Regions from separate parts of the Homo sapiens genome. Here region 1 is linked to region 2. Evidence: promoter capture Hi-C in 16 types of primary human blood cells and fetal thymus (Javierre and others, 2016). All regions are on one chromosome and are shown on one strand. Each heading gives the region's core, a stretch centred on a gene start or on the middle of the fragment in contact. The rest is flanking DNA. Distances are from core to core; before and after follow the strand shown.

What was found. The method cuts DNA at HindIII sites, captures the fragments that hold promoters and counts their contacts. A CHiCAGO score of 5 or more calls a contact.
Region 1: a contact is called between a fragment that was not itself captured here and the fragment with the promoter of PKP2 in region 2, in 1 of 17 cell types (endothelial precursors). The highest score is 5.5, in endothelial precursors.

The regions. Positions count from the first base shown.
Region 1 is chr12:33,986,441-33,989,437 of GRCh38, reverse strand. No RefSeq gene overlaps it. Among named protein-coding and RNA genes, the nearest start is that of ALG10, 35 kb to the left of the region's middle. The HindIII fragment of the contact is 1,914 bases long and covers 608-2,521 here.
Region 2 is chr12:32,895,241-32,898,068 of GRCh38, reverse strand. It overlaps PKP2 (plakophilin 2), which reads left to right and starts at 1,292. Exons shown (of 13, transcript NM_001005242.3): 1 at 1,292-1,560. The coding sequence starts at 1,338. RefSeq lists silencers at 884-983, 1,184-1,293. The HindIII fragment of the contact is 4,432 bases long and covers 1-2,828 here.

The sequences.
Region 1 (2,997 bases), core at 315-2,814, 1.1 Mb before region 2:
TTATGCAGTTTTCAAAATGAAATATTAATACATGTCAGGGCCAGGTTTCAAATCACATTATTCAACTCTTTGAATTTGCATTACACTTCTCTTCTATTCTTAGCATGATTACGGGCCACGTCCTTTTGGCTACCAGTTATGATTTAATAGTGTTCCCTAAAACGTCATCTAAAAATAAAATAATACATATAGCCAAATGCTAATTATATAGCAGTAGCAGAGGTATTCAGGAAATTCGTCAGTTTTCTTTTTCTTCCCAGTTCCTGTGAGTCATTGCTCATTGTGTGAAATAAGATGCCCTCAGGTGAATAGCTAACTTTGTTAGAAAAACACCATCAACCATGAGCAATCGTGACAATAAGGATTTTCCTGTCAAGTAGTACTTTTGGATTAGACACAATACCATTGTTAAGTAGTGGGGAGTCCAGCTGCCTGGCTTCTTTCCTTAAATGTGTAACTAAGCATACTCACTGTTACCCACTGAAAGCCAATTAGTATTTGCAACCTGAAGAGCCATCTTTGGGGAGCAAATTTCTAACTGGATAACTGACCAAACTAACTCAGTATCATTTATAAATTTAATGATGCTTGTTTGACTAAGAAAGCTTTAATGAATAACTATAATTAATGGCAAATTATTTTTCTTACATATATATTAAGATTTATAATCCAAGAACTTCCTAGAACATGACACTTTAATGTGTTTTCTTATCAAGGGTTATCTATTCTTTTGGCATCTGTGTGATAAATACAGAATGTTTCTCAGCTCATACGTTTTCTGGAAAAAGATCTGTGACTGTGACAGTGGGTGAGAGGAATGGGGAATTAGAAAAAGAAATAACACTTTAAGGGAGACATGGACTGTGACTAAGGAATAGAAAGGGAAAGCCAAAAATGGTTGAGGATTCATTACTAAAAATGTCAGCGGGATAGTGAATAAAAGCTGAGTGGTCTACAGTGTAGTCTTTAAGATCATATTTTAAGCCTAAAAACAAAGATTTTTATAAACTTTTATTGATTCATGGCTCAGTTGGGAGTAAAACGCACAATTATACCTATAGTAAGACAAAGCTAAACCAATTCACTGGAGACAGGAAATGATTTATCAGTTGGAAAAAGACCAACAAAACTAAGGCACATTCAACTTTGTACTTCTAAACTAAGCACTAATTAAAAGCCACCAGCTGTTCCTCGAACAATATATCCTGCTAATTCAGATGACTTTAAATCTTGTTGCCCAAATACATTAAAAGTTAATATTTCCCTGCTTCTCAAAGTGCTTCTTATGTTCTGCCATACCCCAAGAAGAAGTTGGTGATTACTGGAGAGGGTATCGTGACTATTTTCTCTTAGATTGATGAAGTTTGTCATACTTTATCCCCAGGGAAAGTTAAAAAAAAATCTGTTGATTCCTTACAATTCTCTAAAGGAGTAAATCTAGGCAACTGTGCAGAATTTGATAGAATTAGAAGGCAATGAGTTTTTCTCTCTCACTAATTCAAACTTACTAATATAATATTATAGTCTAGTCAAAAACTTCTAGTAGATATGGTTGTAAGAAGTCAGGATAGCAAAAGCATTTTATGCCACTTTGGAATTGTGATTGTTACCTGTGTTTTTGTATAGAAAATTCTTTTTCATGGCGTTGAGCTACTAATAGTTACTTCCATGAGTAACAGTTCATAAATATTCAAAATGTGCTAGGAATAATTTCTGGATTTTTGCTTTCTTTTAGAGCTCTTGCCTGTGCTGCCAAAAGTCATTTGTGACTAGGTTAGTGAATTAGACAAGAGTAGATTCTCATCAGAGCTCCTGAGGGTCAGATATCATAGTCATTGTCTTTGTTGCAAAGCATTGACTGAAGAGTAAAAAGAAATAAAGATATGTGCAATTGGTCCTGTTTATTTCTTTTAGTGATCTCAGGAATCTTAAGAGCAGCTATAGAAACAAAGTTATAGGGTGAATTTTGATGACCATCTTGTAAGGTCAAGAATCCCATGTTGTCATTCTAAAGAATGACATCTGAGTTACCATCTGGTAACTCATTTATTTTATAAATATTTATTGAGTACCACTCTATCATGCATTGTTTTATGTTCTGGGGTTAAAGCATCAATCAAGATAGTCAAGGTCAAAATTCTCACGTAATGCATACAGAGAAAAAATAAAAAAAGAAAAATATTAGACAACTATAAGCACTATACAGAAAATTAAAATAGGGTAATAGAGAGTGATTTGGAGGCCACTTGAGACTAGAATAAGAAAAAGACTTCTTGGAAGAGGTGACATTTCAGCTATACCCAGATTAAATAGAAGAAGTTTCTTATCAGAGAACAGTTAGTAGACCTGTTCTATCTGTTAGAAACTAAGACTCTAAGGCAAACCCTACATAGTAGGTAACAGAAAGAACAATATGATTGGAGCATACGGTGGAAGGGGAAGTCCTACAAGGTAGGCAGAGGCCAGGTCATGATATTCTTTTTAAGTGTGTATGGATTTAATTCTAAGACACTAGGAAGCTTTAAATAGGAGAGTTATGTTATCTGATTAATATTTAGCCAGATTACCTTGGCTCCTGAGTGAATAAGGCATTTAGAGGTGGGGAGAGCTATTGAGTAGTCCATGTTATAAAAGATGGTGGCCTGGACAAGAGTGGTAGAAATAAGAGTAAAGTGAAGGTAAAGTGAATTGATTTGGGATACATTTTGGAAGTGGAGCTGGTGAAACTTGCTAATAAAATGAATGTGGGTGTTTTGTGAATGAAAGGATTCATGGACAACTCAGGTTTTTGGTTTAATAAAAGCGGTGGATCTGTTTTCTAAGGGGAAGATAGAAGTAAGGCCAAATTTTGGAGAAAGGGGAGATTAACAGTTTTGTTTTGGCTTATATATTTAATATAATTAATTTAGTTTTTAGGGTAAATTCAATATGGCTGAGATAATGATGATTATAATAATTATTCTCTGTTTCATCTTGCTTTCTCTATAACTTCACAAA
Region 2 (2,828 bases), core at 43-2,542:
GTGTGTCTAAAGGCAGAAGGGTGTGGGTAGGAAAACAAAGACGAGGGAAGCTGCGTTCTCCAAACACTTCAGACTTGAGTAAGTGGGGTTTTGCAGCAATTGAGTGATTTGAGGGAAAGTGAACATACAAACCCAAGCAATCAAAGGGAATATTATCTTAATACCAGGGATACATGTTTTTCTTTCTGCCTCTTAAGTCCAAAGAGGCAAATCAGGACAAGTGGCTTTGGTTGTAAACTTTAAGGTCAAGGATCCTTTCTGTTGAGCTTAGCTCTCAAGTTCTCAGTAGTCAACTGCGGTGAAACATAATTAATAGCACGATAAATACAAGTTGTGGAAGATTCGATTGAAAGTTGGAGGCCCTCTCCGTGGATCTCTCTACAAAGAGCCTGTAATAAAGAGGACTTAATCAACGTTAGCAGGGCTATTTAAAAAGCATCGTCTATTAAAATTCATTTCTTCTCTAGAGCCTCTTGTTGGAGTTTCTCTGTGTGGGTGTGTTCGTAAGAGAGGAATGGGTTAGCAAGAGTACTGGGTACAATTTGTGTATCCAAGAGAAAACAGAAGCTCTCAATGAGGAAGAACATATGTTTCTGGGACTGCATCTGTGCAAAAAGTACATAGTCCTGACGTTGTACTAAGAAAAAAAACACTCTCTTTAGAAAGTCTTTTATTTCACACGTTATCTTCTTGGCACATTTCCCTCATATTGCCCTTTCCGCCTGACCAAATAGCCCTTTCTCACCCTCAGGTCCAGGAAAACCAGGAAACGTTTCCAACAGTGCGACAAAGCCTGACTAACCAGACATACTACTCGCTCGGGGATCCCGGAGGCAAGCCTCAGTCCAAGAACAGGAGTGACTCTCGAGGGCTCACCTGCCTGCAGGGCAGCCCCTCCCTGCATCGAGCGGAAATCCATCCTGTCCAGCGCGGGGCGTGGGCAGAGCGGGGCGCGGCCCCGGCAGGCGGTATCCGCTGGGACTCCGACAACGTGCGCGACCCCAGGCGAACCGCGCCCCTCTCCCCACCTCCCCGCGGGCGGGTACAAGTCTCCAGGTGTCCGCGCGCTCAGCGGGTCCGGCCCGCCCCCGCCCCCGCCCCCGGGCCCGACTGCGCGTGCCCGGCCGGAGCCGCGCCCCCTCCTCAGGGAAGGCCGGGCGTCCGGCCCACGAGGCCGAGCTCCCCCCCGGCCCGGGCCTCTCACCGGCGCGGGGGGCGGGCCAGGGGCGGGGCCGGACTCGAGCGGGGCGGGGCTCGCGCCAGCGCCCCCAGCTCCGTGGCGGCTTCGCCCGCGAGTCCAGAGGCAGGCGAGCAGCTCGGTCGCCCCCACCGGCCCCATGGCAGCCCCCGGCGCCCCAGCTGAGTACGGCTACATCCGGACCGTCCTGGGCCAGCAGATCCTGGGACAACTGGACAGCTCCAGCCTGGCGCTGCCCTCCGAGGCCAAGCTGAAGCTGGCGGGGAGCAGCGGCCGCGGCGGCCAGACAGTCAAGAGCCTGCGGATCCAGGAGCAGGTGCAGCAGACCCTCGCCCGGAAGGGCCGCAGCTCCGTGGGCAACGGTGAGTGGAGCCCGCCGCTCCCCGGCGCCGCCCCCTGCCCCACACCCGGTCACCTCCTCCTATCCCGCCCTCACCCCGCGTGCTGGGAGTGCGGGACCCCGTGTTCTGCCCACCTGTTGCTCGCCGTCTTCGGTATGACCGACTTGCTTGTGGAAAGCACTCTTTTCCATAACCTATTACTCAGCTTTGTCATATAGGTACCTATGTATATTAAATATTGTACATATCTATCAATGTTAACTAACTCACTTCAAGATTTCACCCCTTTCTTTTTCTACTCCGCCGGTCCGCGCCCCTCACTGGTGCGGACTTAATTTGAAGGTTCAGGGAGTCTATAAACACCTTGAGATGCTATGCAGAATTTTTGGTGTGTACGATCTTTTTCTGGGAGAAGGAGCCCTTCAATTTTATTAGATTTGTTAAATAATTAATGACCCCCATAAATATCTTGGGGAAAAAAACCGACAGCACTGGCGCTCCTACAACCTATAAATTGGGATTGTGCTGTCTTATGCAAGTACTTCGGGGCGCTCCACCCTGTGTGGGAGGCGAGTGGTGGATCTAGGGAGTGAAGAAAAGTAGTTAGGAGGCTTTGGTCCAGGGAACAAACACGCCGAGGAGGAGGTAGGGGACTTTGGCCCTGCCGGCAACAGCCGTGCCCGCCTAGCTGCGCTTCCTACCCCCACCAGTGCGGGCGTGATGCAAGTCTGATCCCTCCAAAAAATTAAACCCGAAGGTGAAAGGGGTGTAAGCACACACATGCACACTATGTTCATGATTGATAGACGGGGGAGGTGGAAGGGAAAGAAGATGGCAAGCCACTTGTGAAAATTAGAGATCATGATGTATCCTTTTCTCCCCTGCTGAAGTCAGGTGATGGGATCAACTCAGTGACCCTTGTTTTACTTCTTGTTGCTGTGTATGTGAGTTTGCATTATAAAAGCACTATGTTGGCTTATAGCAAAAAGAAGAGGAAAGAAATTGAGCAATTAAGTTGGAATATCTGTTTCCTGCAACGTTCAGTTGTTTCTGTATGAAGTAACTTGGGCATTGGCGAATGTAGGCTAACCCATTCTAGTTTCTATTAGGAAAACAGAAAAATTCTAACAGGCCAGACCAGAGATTTCAAACAGCAGAGTCTGGGAGGCTGTACTGTGTGTGTAAAAGAATCCTAAAGGATGACGTAGTCAATATTAACATACTTGAAAGGTAAAGAGAAGATGTTCAATGATCGTAGTTAATATAACTGAGTGCATACTATGTGCCAA